Linked DNA regions of Homo sapiens: region 2 is linked to region 1. The links are contacts of gene promoters, found by promoter capture Hi-C in human tissues and cell types (Jung and others, 2019). All regions are on one chromosome and are shown on one strand. Each heading gives the region's core, a stretch centred on a gene start or on the middle of the fragment in contact. The rest is flanking DNA. Distances are from core to core; before and after follow the strand shown. Region 1 holds the start of SIRPB1 (signal regulatory protein beta 1). Region 2 holds the start of TGM6 (transglutaminase 6).

Region 1 (5,421 bases), core at 482-2,981:
GCAGTAAACACAGCAGCTACTACCCTTCATGTCATATAGAGACTAGTTTCTTGTTTTAAAGTGTAATTTGGCATCGATTAACATGATTTTATCATTTTTATATTCATTTCTGTGAGTGTGGAGCAGGAGGTGATGATTTCACCCTCTGTGCATCTGCCACATTGAAAAAGAAATTTGCATGGAAATGTGATGACTTTTACAATTTCATTTGACAATTACTCATGATAGGTGAAGGATTGCAAGCCCAGCATGGGAAAGAGAGGTTTCCAGACAGGTCTTTCTTAGTCACAGATGATGGAGGAGAAACCATTTCTCCTACCAAGGAAATTTTTCTAAAGCACAAGTATGTCAGGGAAGCAGTGAACTCACCCTGTACACAAATGTAATTATAGCCACAATTTTTTGGTTATAATTAAATATGAATCAAACCTTCTGTATGGCTTATATTACTCTTACCATATCACTACAAGGTGCATGTTATAACTTCCATTTACATGTAATTAAGTTAAGGCTTAGAGAAGTCAAGTGTCTTGTTGAAAGTCACACAGCTGGAGATTGTAAGAAAAGGAATTCATCTACAGATTGACAAAAAGCAGGGTGAAGAGGATCCAGAGGGAGAAATTGATCTCAGAGTGTCAGAGGTAGACCAAGTACACCATAAAAGCTGGGTTCCAGAAGTCCGGGGAACATGGGAGAAGGCCACTGGTGGGAAACTCAGCATGCAGTAGAAATCCATTTAAAAGCAATATTTGAGTTCCCTCTCTTCACCTGGCACCATGAGTATCAATAATAACCTACTGAATCTCAGGGATGTATAGTCATTATCTCTTTTGATGTTCACTAAAACATGGCAGTGAGACTTATTATCCCAAGGTTAGAAGGCAAAACTGAACCTAGGCAGGCCCAGTAACTTCCCCAACTCCTTAGCACATCTTCTTAGGGTATTTATTCTCCCTCCCTCCTCAGTTCCCATCTGAAGACAGTGATGAATGGAATAGGTGTTCTATGTGCAGAGCAAAGAGTATTGAAATCGATGTGACTGCTCCAGGAATCTGCCCTCCATATTCTCCCCCATAATAAACATATCCCCTTTCCATAACCCATAATCCCCACCTCACCTCACAAAGCAGATCCTTATTACCCTAAGCCCACTTCCTCTCCTGGAAGAAGTCAGGAAATAATTCCTTCTGCTGGGTGCAGGCATATGAAAGTGCTAACGGCCACATGAGACTGAATTTGGGCTAAGTTTTGCCATTTATATTTATAAAAGTTCGGAATAGGGAACCATTTCAAGAGCAGACCTGTTCCTCTCCAACACTGAGCAGGTCCAGTGATCCCTCATCCTGCCCCAACTGAGTAGCACTTGGTTGAGGCTGTTGTAGAATGAGACCACAAGCCAACCACATCCTGAGGTCTTGAGATGGAAAGTTTAGGAAACATTTCATAACCACAGGTCCTTCCTGGCTTAAGAGCACCAAATGGCAAATCACCAAGAAGACATAAAGATGGGGTTAGGAGTCATGGAAGGAGTTAAGACCTCAGGTGGGAAGGAAGCATTATTTCTGCTAAGCCTGTCTGATTCTCCTGAAATGGGGCATGCATAACTGCTTGCATTGTAGCTGCTTGCTGTTCCTGATTTCTGTTTCACAATCCAGAAGCAGGTTACTGCTTCACTCCATCGCAGCCACTTCCTCTTGAACTAAGGGAGGCAGGGCTTGTCTTCTCTCCTCAGAGCAGAGTCTGCGATCTTCCCAGCACAGACGTTTGGACAGAGCAGGCTCCTAAGGTCTCCAGAATGCCCGTGCCAGCCTCCTGGCCCCACCTTCCTAGTCCTTTCCTGCTGATGACGCTACTGCTGGGGAGACTCACAGGTGAGCACTGCCTTCGGTTAAAATCTTTTTTCCTGCCCACTGAGCCATGGCCTGTCCCTGGACTTTCAGGGATTCCGGACAATGACAAGTGCTGCCAAGAAAGGCCAAGGATTAGGCTTTGACTGAGAGCAGAAAATCAGGGAGCTGAGCACTTTCTCTGTGGATCTGCAGCTGGCTACCAGAGGCATTGAACCACAGGACGATTCAACCACCACAACAACAATTACTTACATTTTGATAATATTTCAATTGAAAAAGCAGAGAAGAATCATTATCTAAATCCTCACCAGTCCTGAGGCCCTAGGGCCAAGTGACATGCCCAAGTCCACAGAGTAAGCTCAGAGACACCCTAACAGGGTTATGTGGCTCTAGGCCCAGCCCTCTCTCTTCACCAAACTGAGGATGTGAAGTCTGTAATAGTGCTCACTTGAGTAGGGCAGTGGTGTGGTGTATCCTGGGAGTGTTCAGCCACCATCCTCCCTAAGGGTGCTCCTCACTTTGTCCTCTGTTCCCCCATGCTCCTCCCTCCCCTGTGACCTGATTCTTACCACCCATTTCTCTGTGGCCTCTTCCTCTTTAAGAAGTTCCACATTTGCTGCTTACTGGGTCCTATATTCCTTTCCTAGGGCTTCCATAACAAAGAACTGCAGGCTGGGTGGCTGAAACTACAGATATTTACTTCCTTGCAGTTAAGGAGGCTGAAGTCCAAGATCAAGGTGTCAGCAGGGTTAGTTTCTACTGAAGTCTCTCTCCTTGGCTTATACAGGGCCATTTTCTCTCTGTGTCTTAAACACATGATCTTCCTCTGTGTGTGTCTGTGTCCTCATCTCCTCTTCTTATGAGAATATCAGTCTTGTTGTATTAAGGCCCACCCCAATGACCTCATTTAACTAAATTACTTCTTAAAGACCCTGTCTCCCAAACTGTAACGTTCAGAGGTGCTGGGGATTAGAGCTTCAACACATGCATTTTGTGGGACACATTCAGCCCATAACAGGTACTACAACCTCCTTTGGTTCTCTTAAATTTCCCATGGATAATTTCTTTCCCCTTCCCAAGACAGGCAGGATTGGAGGGCCTTTCCTGGTGCAGCCTGGGAGAACCCTGCTCACAGCTCCCAGACAAGTTACCTGTCCTGATCCCTTCTCAGGCCATGGAGCTGACCCCAGAACCACAGGGCTGGGCACAGCAGCCTCTCAATTCCCCACTGGGCCCTGCTGTGATGTCACCTCACAGGCCCTAGAGGGCAGGGGTCTCACTTTTCAAATTATTTTTCTCACACATACACTGTACCCAAATGACAGCAGTAAGAGTTTAACAATTGAGCTCTTCCTACCATGTAGACACAGTTATTAGCATTTTGCCTGTTTTAGCTCCACTAATCCTCACAACATCCCTGTGTGAAAGCTGCAACTATTATCCCCTATTTCCAAACAAAGACTCAGGCAGAGGGAGGAACTTGTCCATTCATTGTCCCCTACCTCAGTCAGTGGAGCAGCTGAGATTCAAGTCCAGGTCGACCGGCTCCAAAGTTCATTCTTTTAGTCGTGTTATGCTACTAGCAGAAATATTAGAAAATGCAGGGAAGTAAACATAGAATTAATTATTGCCTACCACACTTGTTAGCAACAACCAGAGTTACAACTGTGATGTATGTACTTCTAAATTTGTTATTAATGTGTTGGATGCTTTCTATGGGCCACATATTTTACTTTCTATGGGCCAGATATTTTAATGAGATTTTAACGTGTGTTGTAATTTTATTTAATACACAAAACAAACTTATATACTATCACAATAGGTCACACTTTGATATATATTTGTGAATGTATATGTGTGTGTCTATATATACATATATATGTGTGTGTGTGTATATATACATATATGTGTGTGTATATATATTTGCAAATGTGTGTATACATATGTGTGTATACATATGTATATGCATGTATGCATATAAGTAAGTGTACATGCACACACAGGAGATTTCATTTTTTATCATTGTTTCTCCAAGTTTCTAATTTCAATGAAACTTTTAACAAAATATTTTATTTTTATTTGACAGAACTGTATATACTTATCATGTATACCATATTAATGAAATATGTGTACATTGCAGAATGCCTAATTTGAGCTAATTAACATATGACCTACCTTGTATATGTATCATTTCTGTGGTGAGATCTCTCAAAATCTGCTTTCAACAATTTTTGAGGTTACGAATTGTGTTATGAACTCTAGACCCCATATTGTACAATAGATTTGTGGAACTAATTTCTCCTAACTAAACTGAAATTTTGTATCCTTTGACCAATATCTCTCCAAATGCACCCCCTGCCTAGTGCCTGGTAACCAATATTCTACTATCTACTTCTATGAGTTCAACTTTTTAAAATTCCACATATGAGAGACATTATGCAGTATTGTCTTTCTGTGCCTGGCTTATTTTACTTAGCATAATATCTTCCAGGATCATTTATATTGTTGGAAATGATAGGATTTCCTTCTTTGGTCAGGCTGATTAGAATTCCATTGTGTATACCAATTTCCTTTCTCCATTTATCTGCTGATGGACATCTAGGTTAATTTAATATCCTGGCTATTGTAAATAATGCTGCAATGGACATGGGAGCACAGATATCTCTGTGACATGCTTATGTCATTTCCTTTGGATGTATGCCCAATAGTGAGATTGCCAGATCATATGATAGTTCTATTTTTAATTTTTTGAGGAGCCTCCATACTGTTTTTGCTAATGGCTCTACTAATTTACATTCCCACTAACTATGTGCAAGAATTCCCTTTTCTCCACATCCTCTCCAAAACTAGTTATCATCTTTTTTATAGTAGCCATTCTAACAAGTGTGAGATGATAGCTCACTGTGGTTTTAATTTGCATTTACCAGATGAATAGTAAGGCTGAGTATTTTTATAGGTCTGATGGCCATTTTAATGTCTTCTTTTGAGAAATGGGTTTTAAGATCTTTGGCCCATATTTTAGTTGGGTTGTTTTCTTAATATTGAGTTGTTTCACTTCCTTATATATTTTGTATATTGACTTTTCATTAGATGCATGGCTAGCAAATATCTTCTTCCATTCTGCTGGTTGTCTTTTCACTCTGTTGATTGTTTCCTTGGCTGTGTAGAAGCTTTTTAGTTTGTTGTAATGCCGTTTGTCTATTTTTCTTTTGTTGCCTGTGCTTTGGGACTCATATCTGAAAATTCATTGCCCACACCAATGTCATGGCACTTTTCTTCCAGTACTTTTACACTTTTAGATCCTACACTTAAGTCTTTAATACATTTTGAATTGATTTTTGTGTGTCATGTGAGAGGAAGGTCTAATTTTATTCCTCTACAGATGGATATCCAGGTTTCCCAATGCCACTTTTTGAAGAGACTGACCTTTCCCAATTGTGTCTGCTTGACATTTTTGTCAAAGGTCAATTGAGTGTAAATGTGTGCGTTTATATCTGGGCTCTCTGGTCTGATCCATTTGTCTATGTGTCTATTTTTATGCCAGTGCCATGCTGTTTTGATTACTATGGCA
Region 2 (4,753 bases), core at 269-2,768, 760 kb before region 1:
GGGAAGAGGGATCATCTAGGTGAACTTTGAGAAGCAGATCTTGGAGGAACAAAGGCAATCCCCTCTGCACCAGGGCCATCAGGGAGGCAACCCCAGCTCTGGAAACAGGCAGTCTGGGCTGTGAGCTGGTGTTGGCAAGGCCTGGTCTTCAGAACAGACCTATCCTAGGAGCCTGAAGGGCCCAACACGTCCAGCAATGCTGTTAACTGCCAGGAGGAAATATGAAGAGGAAGCTAGACTATGATGAGGAAATTCAAATATCTGCCTTTGAAAGTTAAAAAAATATTTGATTCATAAAACTGTCACATAATGCTGAACAATTAAAACTGGCAGACACAGACTCAGAAACACCCCTTGAATACCTGTGAGTGTAGGACCCCTGGTTCTGCTGACTTGCTCATTACCGGGCCCCAGCATCTAAGACAAGTTCTTGCAGAGGGAGTTTGCTGCTCACTATATTGAGGTCGTGGGGGACACATTATCTTACTTTCTTTTTTTTTTGAGACAGGGTCTCACTCTGTTGCCCAGCCTGCAGTGCAGTGGCACCATCTTGGCTCACTGTAGCCTCTACCTCCTAAGCTCAAGCGATCCTCTCACCTCAGCCTCCCAAGTAGCTGGGACTTTGGGTGTTCCCCACCATGCCTAGCTAATTGTTGTATTTTTTTGTAGAGACGGGGTTTTGCCACATTGCCCAGGCTGGTCTCAAACTCCTGAGCTCAAGAATTCCACCCCCTTCAGCCTCCCAAAATGCTGGGATTAGAGGCGTGAGCCACTGTGCCCGACCCACATTTTCTGAGTCTACTGTTTACAAGTCCCCACTTGAGATGTGTGGTGGGAGAACAGCACACGTGGTCTCACCAACTCCTCACAGCAAGGCTGTGAGATAATTTGCATTATAATCCCCATTACACAGATCAGAAAACAGAGGTACCAAGGGCAAATTTTCTTGCTCAAGGTCATATAGCTGTTTTCACTTGAGCCAGAGCTGCTCTTGCCCTCAAGTGCTTGGGGTGGGAATCAGGCGAGGATGCAGCCGGTGGGGGCCTCTCACTCCTTCCCACGCAGGCCACAATTCCCAACTATGCCCAGAAACGTCTCTGGATCCATGGAATGTGCATGGGGTGCAAGGAGATTTTCTTTTTTCTGCCCCTGCCTTCCTGTGCCTGCCTCCTTCAGTCCTCCGAGGCACAGGGGTGAGACCTGGCCCCAGCCCAGGAGACAGCGCCTGAGCCAGCCTGGGCCATGGCCTTGCTGGGTGGCTTAAAGCTGGCTTTTTCATCCTGGGCCTCATGAATCCACACGAAGAGTTCATGTGTTCATGGTGGACTATCCAGCTGTAAAATCCTAACAATCGATGATCAAACGTCATCCCACAGACCCGTGTTTCTTGAAGCCCCCCTCATGAGCCCTGGTGTCCCAAGGCCCCAGGCTCTGCCCACTTACCTGCCATGTGAAGGCCAGCTGGACTCCTCTGTTCCTCCACACAGCAGTGTGTGCACCGTCAGGACAGTGTGGCGCGTCACAGCAGCCAGCCAGACCAATTTTAACAAGGAAAACCTTGGGACACTCCTAGGCAGGAAAGTCAGAATTCAAAAGAGGAGGCGTGGCCCTCCACCCTAGCAGCGACACCCACGAGACACAAAATCATCCTGTAATTGCACCTAGAGGGGTTCACTGTGGGAGTGGCTCCTGCCAAGAGACCTTGGAAACACGGAGTTGCGAATGGGACTGTGGAGAAACTGAGGCTCAGAAAGGTCACAAGCCTGGCAAGAAAAAGAACGGGGAAAGAGAGAAGACTGAGGGAACTCGGATTTATGGTTGGCCATTCTTAGCCCTCACAACAACCCTCAAATGAGAAAAAACAGGCTCAGCGCCAGGACCCCGAAGTACATGGTTGCACGCTGCAGTGCCGGGTCAGTCTGTGGCTCCCTCTCCCCTCCTGGGTGAGAGCAGAAGACTCCTGGGCCCACAGCTCCACTCTGTTCTGCAGGCATCTAAAGAGGCAGAGGTCCATGATCCTCCTTCAGGGCCACTAGACTTCCTTGGTGGACACTAGACTCTTGAGAGGAGGTAGATAAGAAAAAGGGGAGAGCTGGTTCTGACTCAGAAGCTAGGCCCATCTGCCCTGACTTTGTGAGTGGCCTCCAGCCAGGAGCTTAGAGGCCTGGTGGCCATGGGTGTCCCGTGACCTTGGACAAGACCTCTCCCCTCCTGGAACCCTGGTGTTTCTACCTACAAACTAAAGGGATTGGACTCAATTATTCTTCAGGGCCATTCCAGCTCAAAGTCTAAGATTCTGGGCTTGAAGGTGCTGGAATTCAAGGCATCTGAGGTCTTTTGTTAATGAAATAGAGGGGATTTTATTTTCATGGAAGCCGGTGGGGTAGGTTTCTTTTTGCCGGAGAAATGCTTTGATGGATGACTTGGGGCTATCGAAGGCTGGATGTGGCCTGGGCCAGTGAGGAAGGGGAAGTGGGAGGGGGTAGAATCGAGGGAAAGAGACAAGGAAGGGTAAGGAGACAACCGTGTGCTGAGCACAGTAGGATGAGGCCGCTCCCTGGGATCACCCCAACATTCAGGAAACTGCATAAAAACCCCAAAGTGTTTGATGTGGTTGGATTTCTTACAGAAAGTGGCAAAGAGGCTGAGTTCTGCTTCCTGGTTTCACGCAGATCAAGCGTCTTTAATGAGCTGTCTGCAGACCCACATAGCCTTATAATTACTGACATCTGGCAGCAGCCCAGGGCAGCTCCTTCCTCAACACCCTGCAGGCTGCTGCCCTGTAGACCCTGGGCCCTGCTGAAGCTGCTTTTCTGCCTATGCAGGGTCAGGCTCCTCCCCACTAATGATGGTCTTATTCAGGGCCCTTTTATCTTTCATCCTGGGCTTGCTTGGACGGGAGCTCCCAGAAGACAGGGCATCAAAATCACTGCCTGCCCCACTGCTCGAGACCCCAAATAATAATTCATACTCCTCGTTTTTTTTTTTTGAGACAGGGTCTCGCTCTGTCACCTAGGGTGAAGTGCAGCGGCACGATCTCAGCTCGGTGCAACCTCTACTTCCCGGGTTCAAGCAATTCTCCTGCCTCAGCCTCCTGAGTAGCTGGGACTACAGGCGTGTGCCACCATGCCCGGCTAATTTTTTGTGTATTTTAAGTAGAGACAGTTTCGCCATGTTGGCCAGGCTGGTCTCAAACTCCTGACCTCAGGTGATCTGCCCACCTCAGCCTCCCAAAGTGCGAGATTACAAGTGAGAGCCACTGCACCCGGCCCATACTCAGTTTAGAAGTGAGCATCATAGCCTGGCAGTAGAGTCCTGGGTTCTGTTATCTCTGGGCCAAACTGGCTGTGTGACCTTCAGCAGGTCACTTACCTTCTCTGGGCCTTATTGCCTTCATCTGTAAAATACGGGTGTGAACTAAGTGTTACCAGTTCCAACATTCTCTGATTCTGATGATCAGGCTAGAGATGACAGACGGGAGCCAAAGCCTTGGGCGGCTCAGGGTACCCCAATGCCAGGCATAAAGTGGGTGCTTCACAAATTAAAATCTGTGCCTGGGGAATAATCAGATGCTTTAAAAGCAATTTAATTGTTCTTCTGGCTATAGAGATAATACATACTCAGGTACAAAATTCAAGCAATACAGGGAGTGAAGAAAGTATACATGCATACGGCTGTATACACATGGCAACAAATTTACATGAATCGCATCATACACAGAAGCTGTTTTGTAACCCGTCCTTTTTGCTTGACCAAACATGGTGCTCTCTTTTCTTTTCTTTTTTTGAGACGGAGTCTTGTTCTGTTGCCCAGGCTGGAGTGCAGTGGCTCGATCTCAGCTCACTGCAAGCTCCACCTCCCGGGTTCTCACCTTGCTTCTGCTTCAGCCTCCCAAGTAGCTGGGACTACAGGCACCCGCCACCATGCTCAGCTAATTTTTTTTTTTAATTTACTTTTAGTAGAGATGGAGTTTCACCATGGCCAGGATGGTCTCAATCTCCTGACCTCGTGATCCACCCGCCTTGGCCTCCCAAAGTGCTGAGATGACAGCTTTTCAAATCATAGAATATAGCTATGCACTGTCATTATTAATGTCATCTCTTGTGTGAATTTACATAATTTTACTAACCCTTCTTAAATTTATAAGAATTTAGGTCATTTCCACTTTTTTGCCCTTATAAAGAAATTTAATTGTTTGCATGTATTTTTGTGTGCTTCTATGATGGGACAATTTCTGCCAAGTGAAATTGTTGAGAGGAGCCATTCTTCAAGACAGCAATTCCATGTGCAGGAATTTGTCCGACAGATGGATCCAAAAGTGTGGAAAGATTTAAGTACGAGGATATTTATTGCAACATTAATTATAACAGAAAGAGTGAAAACTCTCCTGTCTTCATTAATGGGATAAATTATGATCTATCCATGTAATAAAATACTATGTAGCTATTTAAAAAGTGGAGGCAGACTGATGCACGTGGATATGAAACAGTCTCCTAGATACATTGCCTAATTAAAAACAAAAAGTAAGGTGGAAAATAAAAGGAGGTGGTAGAAACGAGAAGTCAGGGAGAAACCTAATTTTTGAACTCTTAGAAATGTTTGACTGTGGGTATATACTACCTTTCAAAAACATTATTATTATTATTATTTAAAATAACAAGCCAGGCATGGTGGTGTGCACCTGTAGTCCCAGCTACTTGGGAGGCTGAGGTGGAAAGATACAGCGAGCCCAGTTTGGGTCCAGCCTGGGCAA

Evidence for each region. Contacts are between HindIII fragments. The study calls those that stand out against the background at their distance.
Region 2: the fragment with the promoter of TGM6 here is called in contact with the fragment with the promoter of SIRPB1 in region 1 in 3 of the 25 tissues and cell types used here (IMR-90 fibroblasts, small bowel and stomach).

What each region holds. Positions count from the first base shown.
Region 1 is chr20:1,616,319-1,621,739 of GRCh38, reverse strand. SIRPB1 (signal regulatory protein beta 1) reads left to right here and starts at 1,731. Exons shown (of 6, transcript NM_006065.5): 1 at 1,731-1,871. The coding sequence starts at 1,796. The HindIII fragment of the contact is 12,957 bases long and covers 1-5,421 here.
Region 2 is chr20:2,377,666-2,382,418 of GRCh38, reverse strand. It overlaps TGM6 (transglutaminase 6), which reads right to left and starts at 1,518. Exons shown (of 13, transcript NM_198994.3): 1 at 1,444-1,518. The coding sequence starts at 1,450. The HindIII fragment of the contact is 30,296 bases long and covers 1-4,753 here.